2 separate regions of the Homo sapiens genome follow, and region 2 is linked to region 1. The links are contacts of gene promoters, found by promoter capture Hi-C in human tissues and cell types (Jung and others, 2019). All regions are on one chromosome and are shown on one strand. Each heading gives the region's core, a stretch centred on a gene start or on the middle of the fragment in contact. The rest is flanking DNA. Distances are from core to core; before and after follow the strand shown.

The links. The method cuts DNA at HindIII sites, captures the fragments that hold promoters and counts their contacts. A contact is called where the count stands out against the background at its distance.
Region 2: a contact is called between a fragment that was not itself captured here and the fragment with the promoter of MBD3L3 in region 1, in 2 of the 25 tissues and cell types used here (hippocampus and neural progenitor cells).

The regions. Positions count from the first base shown.
Region 1 is chr19:7,057,269-7,060,000 of GRCh38, reverse strand. MBD3L3 (methyl-CpG binding domain protein 3 like 3) reads left to right here and starts at 1,325. Exons shown (of 2, transcript NM_001164425.4): 1 at 1,325-1,440. The coding sequence starts at 1,396. The HindIII fragment of the contact is 21,543 bases long and covers 1-2,732 here.
Region 2 is chr19:7,094,182-7,096,913 of GRCh38, reverse strand. All of the region lies in intron 1 of LOC124904625 (a long non-coding RNA gene), which reads left to right. Among named protein-coding and RNA genes, the nearest start is that of ZNF557, 26 kb to the right of the region's middle. The HindIII fragment of the contact is 4,002 bases long and covers 1-2,732 here.

The DNA.
Region 1 (2,732 bases), core at 76-2,575:
TAAAGATGCCTAAATAAAAGTGTAAAGGAAAACAATTAGTTGTTAGCAGCATTGAATTAGAAGAAAAATACTAGAATGAATTCTCAAGTCCACAGGGAAATAATCCCAGATTGAATGCTAGAAATGCAGAAAGGAACAAAGATGAATGCACAAGATAAGCTGTAGGTAAATATTAGTGCATATTGCTTTATGAAGCAATACTAGAAATGTCTCCTGGAGAGTAAAATATGTGTAGAATTAATATGCATGAGAATGGTAATACAAAAGTCAGAAACAGCTAAAAAGAGAATTAAAAGTGTTCTAAAGTATTAGCATTTTGTGGGAGGGGTTAAAGTAATTAATTGTATCAGAGTATATGATTTAATTATTAGCATAACTACACAGATTTGTATGGCTGTAACTAGCAAGTTCATGGAGATAACAATAAAATAATAAACATATTTAATTCAAAGTCAGTCAAGTAAAGGCAAAAGGAACGTGAGTCAGTTAAGTCAAAACCTAGGAAAAATGAGATGATTGAAACAATTTCAAATTTACTGGTAATTATATTAAATGTAAATGCACGAAATAGAACTTTTTTTTTTTTTTTTTTTTGAGATGGAGTCTCACTCTGTCGCCCATGCTGAGCTGCAGTGGTGCGATCTCGGCTCACCGCAACCTCTCCCTCCCAGGTTCAAGCGATTCTCCTGCCTCAGCCTCCCGAGTAGCTGGGATTACAGGTGCATGCCACCACACCAGGGTAAGTTTTGTATTTTTAGTAGAAATGGGGTTTCACCATGTTGGCCAGGCTGGTCTCGAACTCTTGACCTCAGGTGATCTACCTGCCTTGGTCTCCCAAAGTGCTGGGATTATAGGCGTAAGCCACCTCTCCCGGCCAAAGTAGTAATTTCTTTGCAACAACTGTGTGATATATTCTATAGGATTGTGAATAAAAGTTTTGGGCTTTCTTTTCTTAAAGAACATTTAAATGGTCTTTAGTTGTTGTTATTAAATCAAATATTACGTGAACATTTATGTACATAGACAATTCCATTCCTATTTCTATAGAAAGTATTCAAAGATGTTTGGAAAACTGGGAGAAAAAGGGAAACATATCTAAAATGCTGATATTAACTGTAAATACCACCCCGCCACACACACATACACACGTATTCAATTCTTTCTCTACTAACACTCTGTGTAGGTAACACCACATTGGTTTCTGTATAAAGATTTAGAAATGCCTCAAATCCAATGGGCGGAGACAGGGTGTTCCCTGTGGATTATCCACTGATTGCATTATCACTCGCTTTCTCTATAAAAAGGGGAACCAGATGCAGAAGTCACTGCATTTTCCGGCAAGCCAAGGGTTGTCTGCATCTCAAGAGTGGGGTCAGCAAGAGAAACTCTACGGCTATGGGAGAGCCTGCGTTCACCTCTTTTCCGAGCCCACCTGTTCTGGTGAGTACGGGATATTTATTGATTACAGGAATGTCCATATGTGTCCTTTTTCCTTCTGTAAGACAGCTTTACAGTTAGCAGTGGGTTGTTCTTAAAACTGGATGTTGTGGAAAGTTATACCTCAGGTGGTAATATCTGTTGAATAATGTTCAAAGTATTCTCATTTTTGCCCATGAAACTGTATGGGGATAATAGCTTTGAATTTTTTTTTAAAAATCCAACATCACTAGGAAAGGGAAGAAGTATGATTTGGCCTTGCAGTCTTCAAATTGTCTCCTTCTCTGGAAAGCTCCTGAACCAGAAATTGCTTGGTCCGTTTTTTTAAAAAAACAAAAAACAAAAAAAATTAGTTCTCTGGTAAAATTTCATGATGAGTTGCTTATTCCCTAAACTCACTGTCACGATTCATTGTAGTGAATTTCTTTTCTGTTTCTCTGTTTCTCCTCCTTCCATCCCTCTCTGTCACTCCCTTCTTCTTCATCATGGAACTTACTTATATCTGATATTCCACCAGAAATTTGTTTTTAGTGCGTTTATTATGTCTTCCTTCTCACCAAGATGAAAATCAACAGAGTGGTGATTTATGAAGTTTACTTCTGGATCAGGGGTTCTACTGCACAGCTTGGCACATCATAAGTGCCCCGTAACTAAGGGGACTAAATAATTTTCCCTCCAAAGGGGAACATCTTGGGTCAGTATTAATCTTTATGCCAGGGGTACTGTAAGGGGTAGTATTAATCTTTATGCCAGGACAACGAAAAATGAAATGAGGAGGACAGAAACAAAGGCTTTAAAATGGAAAGTGCACTGATGAGGTTTGTGGGGGAAACAGCTTTATGAGACTAGAGTCTTCCAATTGAGTTAGAGCAAGAAAGGACGTCAAATCTTAGGAGGCGCTTGATCATCTTTCTCAGTATGTCATCAAAAGATTCTCTCATGGTATACCTCTAGTTAATTGAGCTTATTAGAAACAGAAAGCAACATGGTGTTTCTGAGGTTTTTCTTCATGAGCAGGAGGTGTTCAGGTGAAGGTGGGATCTGGGTGTGGCAGTGAGTATTTAAGGTGGCGAGTGCAGGATTTCTTTGGAAACCAGAGAGTCAAGGAGCTATGAAAATGACGTTGTGTCCTGAAGCACAGCAGAAAGAGATACAGAGAAGCGTGAGGTCTTGGTGAACAGGGAAGTCTGGGATCCCGGTGTCCTGTTGGGGATGGGTTAGGAGGCACCACCAGCATCTGTGTAGCTGACAGTGGCAGGGAAGAGAAGAGAGGGGTGTCCTCTGAGGAGGATGAG
Region 2 (2,732 bases), core at 156-2,655, 37 kb before region 1:
CCACCATACCCAGCCTGGAGTTCCTTTCTTGAGTGTGTAGAGGATTGAGGGTTGATTGGTTTTTGGAGTTTCCATCATTAATGTAGGAGCGATACGGGGAATCACTTGGCGAAGCTTTCATTGTCTCTGATGTTGGAGGTAACTGGAGGGCCAGTGCCTGGGGCTTCCATTTTTTTCTAGTGTTGAAGGGTCAAGAGCATTTATCAGATAGAGGCCTTACTGTGTATTGTTTGGGGAGAGGATGGAGGGATTATTGGATGGGGTTCCACTTATCTCTAGTTGGGGAGGGTCATATTCTGGGTCTCCGCTTGCCTGTACTGTTGGTATAGACTGGGTAGGCCATTGGGCTTGGAGTCCCCATTCTTTAGTGTTGAGGGGCATCTGAAGGGGTCATTTCAGGGACTTCTGTTATAGTTTTGGACGTGACTGAGGGGTGCTTGCTGGAGTAGTTTCGCGATGACGGAGGTCTTCATGTTTGGACTCCATCTTTTGTGTTTGTAAGTGATTGAGGGGTGGAGATCTGGCATCCTGTTGCCTCTTGTTTTGAGGGTGACTGGTGGTTACCTGCTAGGGCTTCTGTCAGCTCTACTGCTGTATGCAGATTGTGAGAATCACTTGCTGGGGCTTCCATAATCTCTAGTCTTAGGGGGACTGGGAAATGGCTTGCCATGCTTTCTATTATCTCTAGTTTTAAGGGACCAGTTCAATGTGATTTAAAACTCTTTTTATTTGAAAAAAAAAAAAAATTAGGGCTGGGCACGTTGGCTCACGCCTATAATCCTAACACTTTTGGGAGGCCAAGGCAGATGGATCACTTGAGGTCAGGAGTTTGAGACCAGCCTGGTCACCATGGCGAAACCCCATCTCTACTAAAAATACAAAAATTAGCTGGGCGTGGTGGTGCACACCTGTAGTTGCAGCTACTTGGAGGCTGAGGCAAGAGAATTGCTTGAACCCAGGAGGCGGAAGTTGCAGTGAGGTGAGTGTGGGCAACAGAGTGAGACTCCGTCTGAAAAAAAAAAAAAGATTTAGACGTATAAAAGTGTTAAAACTATACAGGCTTGATTTATACAGTCAATATTTATTTGTATTTGCTCACATTTTATCTTTCCTGATTATCCTTATATATTTCTGGAATTGCTTCCACATGGAATAATTTTCCTCCAGCCCCAAAACTTTCCTTCTTTCTTTCCTTCTCCTTCCTTCCTTCCTTCCTTCCCTCCCTCCCTCCTTCCTTCTTTTTTTTTTTTGAGACAGAGTCTCGCTCCATCGCCCAGGCTGGAAAGCAACGGTGCGATCTCAGCTCACTGCAACCTCCACCTCCTGGGTTCAAGCAATTCTCCTGCCTCAGCCTCCCAAGTAGCTGGGATTATAGGCGACCGCCACTACGCCCAGCTAATTTTTTTTTTTTTTTGTAGTTTTAGCAGAGATGGGGTTTTGCCATGTTGGCCAGCCTTGTCTCGAACTCCTGACCTCAGGTGATCCACCTGCCTCAGCCTCCCAAAATGCTGGGATTACAGGTGTGAGCCACCGTGTCTGGCCCAAAACTTTCTTTAGTGTTTCTTGAAGTGCAGTTCTGCTGGTGATGAACTATGTTGTTGCTGAAACACCAGGGGTTCAATCTAGGTCCTGCTGCTCACCACTGCACAGAAAGCCTATCGCTGAGACAATGAGTATTGCCAAGGAAGAAGGCTTTAATCAGCTGCTGCAGCTGAGGAGGTGGGAGAACAATCTCAAATCCATCTCCCTGACCAACTAAAATTTGAGGTTTATATAGCAGGGAAGAAATGTTACCATGTGTGGGAATACAGGAATTAGGGAAGGGTAAGGAAGAGGAGTTGGTCAACAGGAAGCAGGTGGTCAGTTAGGCAATCATGATGGGTGATGGGTCTGATGTCTCACTGTACAAATGCAGTATTCTGGTGCGTTTCAGCTCCTAGATACTATCTGGGAGGCCTGATGGTTGGTTTCCTGAGAAAGGAACTCAGATAAGATAAATGTAACTTTCTTAAGTTTTAAGATTGGGAAGATCAATTTGTTTGTTTATTCAAGGAAACCATAAACATCAGCAATATGGGAAAATTGGGCCAGTTTCACTTTCAGGTATTTAAAAGAAAAATCTATTGGATTTTGGATATCAATTCTTGTCCTTCACTTGGCGCTAAGTTCATGTCCCTACATAAGATACAAAGGGGGCCGGGCGCGGTGGCTCCCGCCTGTAATCCTAGCACTTTGGGAGGCCGAGGTGGGCGGATCACAAGGTCAAGAATTCAAGACCAGCCTGGCCAACATAGTGAAACCCCATCTCTACTAAAAATACAAAAATTAGCCGGGTGTGCTGGCGTGTGCCTGTAGTCCCAGCTACTCGGGAGGCTGAAGCAGGAGAGTCGCTTGAATCCAGGAGGCGGAGGTTGTAGTGAGCAGAGATGGCACCATTGCACTCCAGCCTGTGTGACAGAGTGAGACTCCATCTCAAAAAAAAAAAAAAAAAAAAAGAGATACAAAGGAAGCTACTGTTGGGATAATGTCATTTGGTCGTATTCCCATCAGAAACCTTAAGCTTTGGCCACAACCAGGACTCTTCATATAAAATGGTGATGGTGGTGGTGGGGAACCAGGGAAAAAGCGGAAAAAATTAAAGATTTTTTAAAAAACCCAAACCCAAAGCATAGCTGTCTTCTATTCCTGCTTTGGGACCTGGTCTTCAGGACTGAATTTAATTCTTCCACATC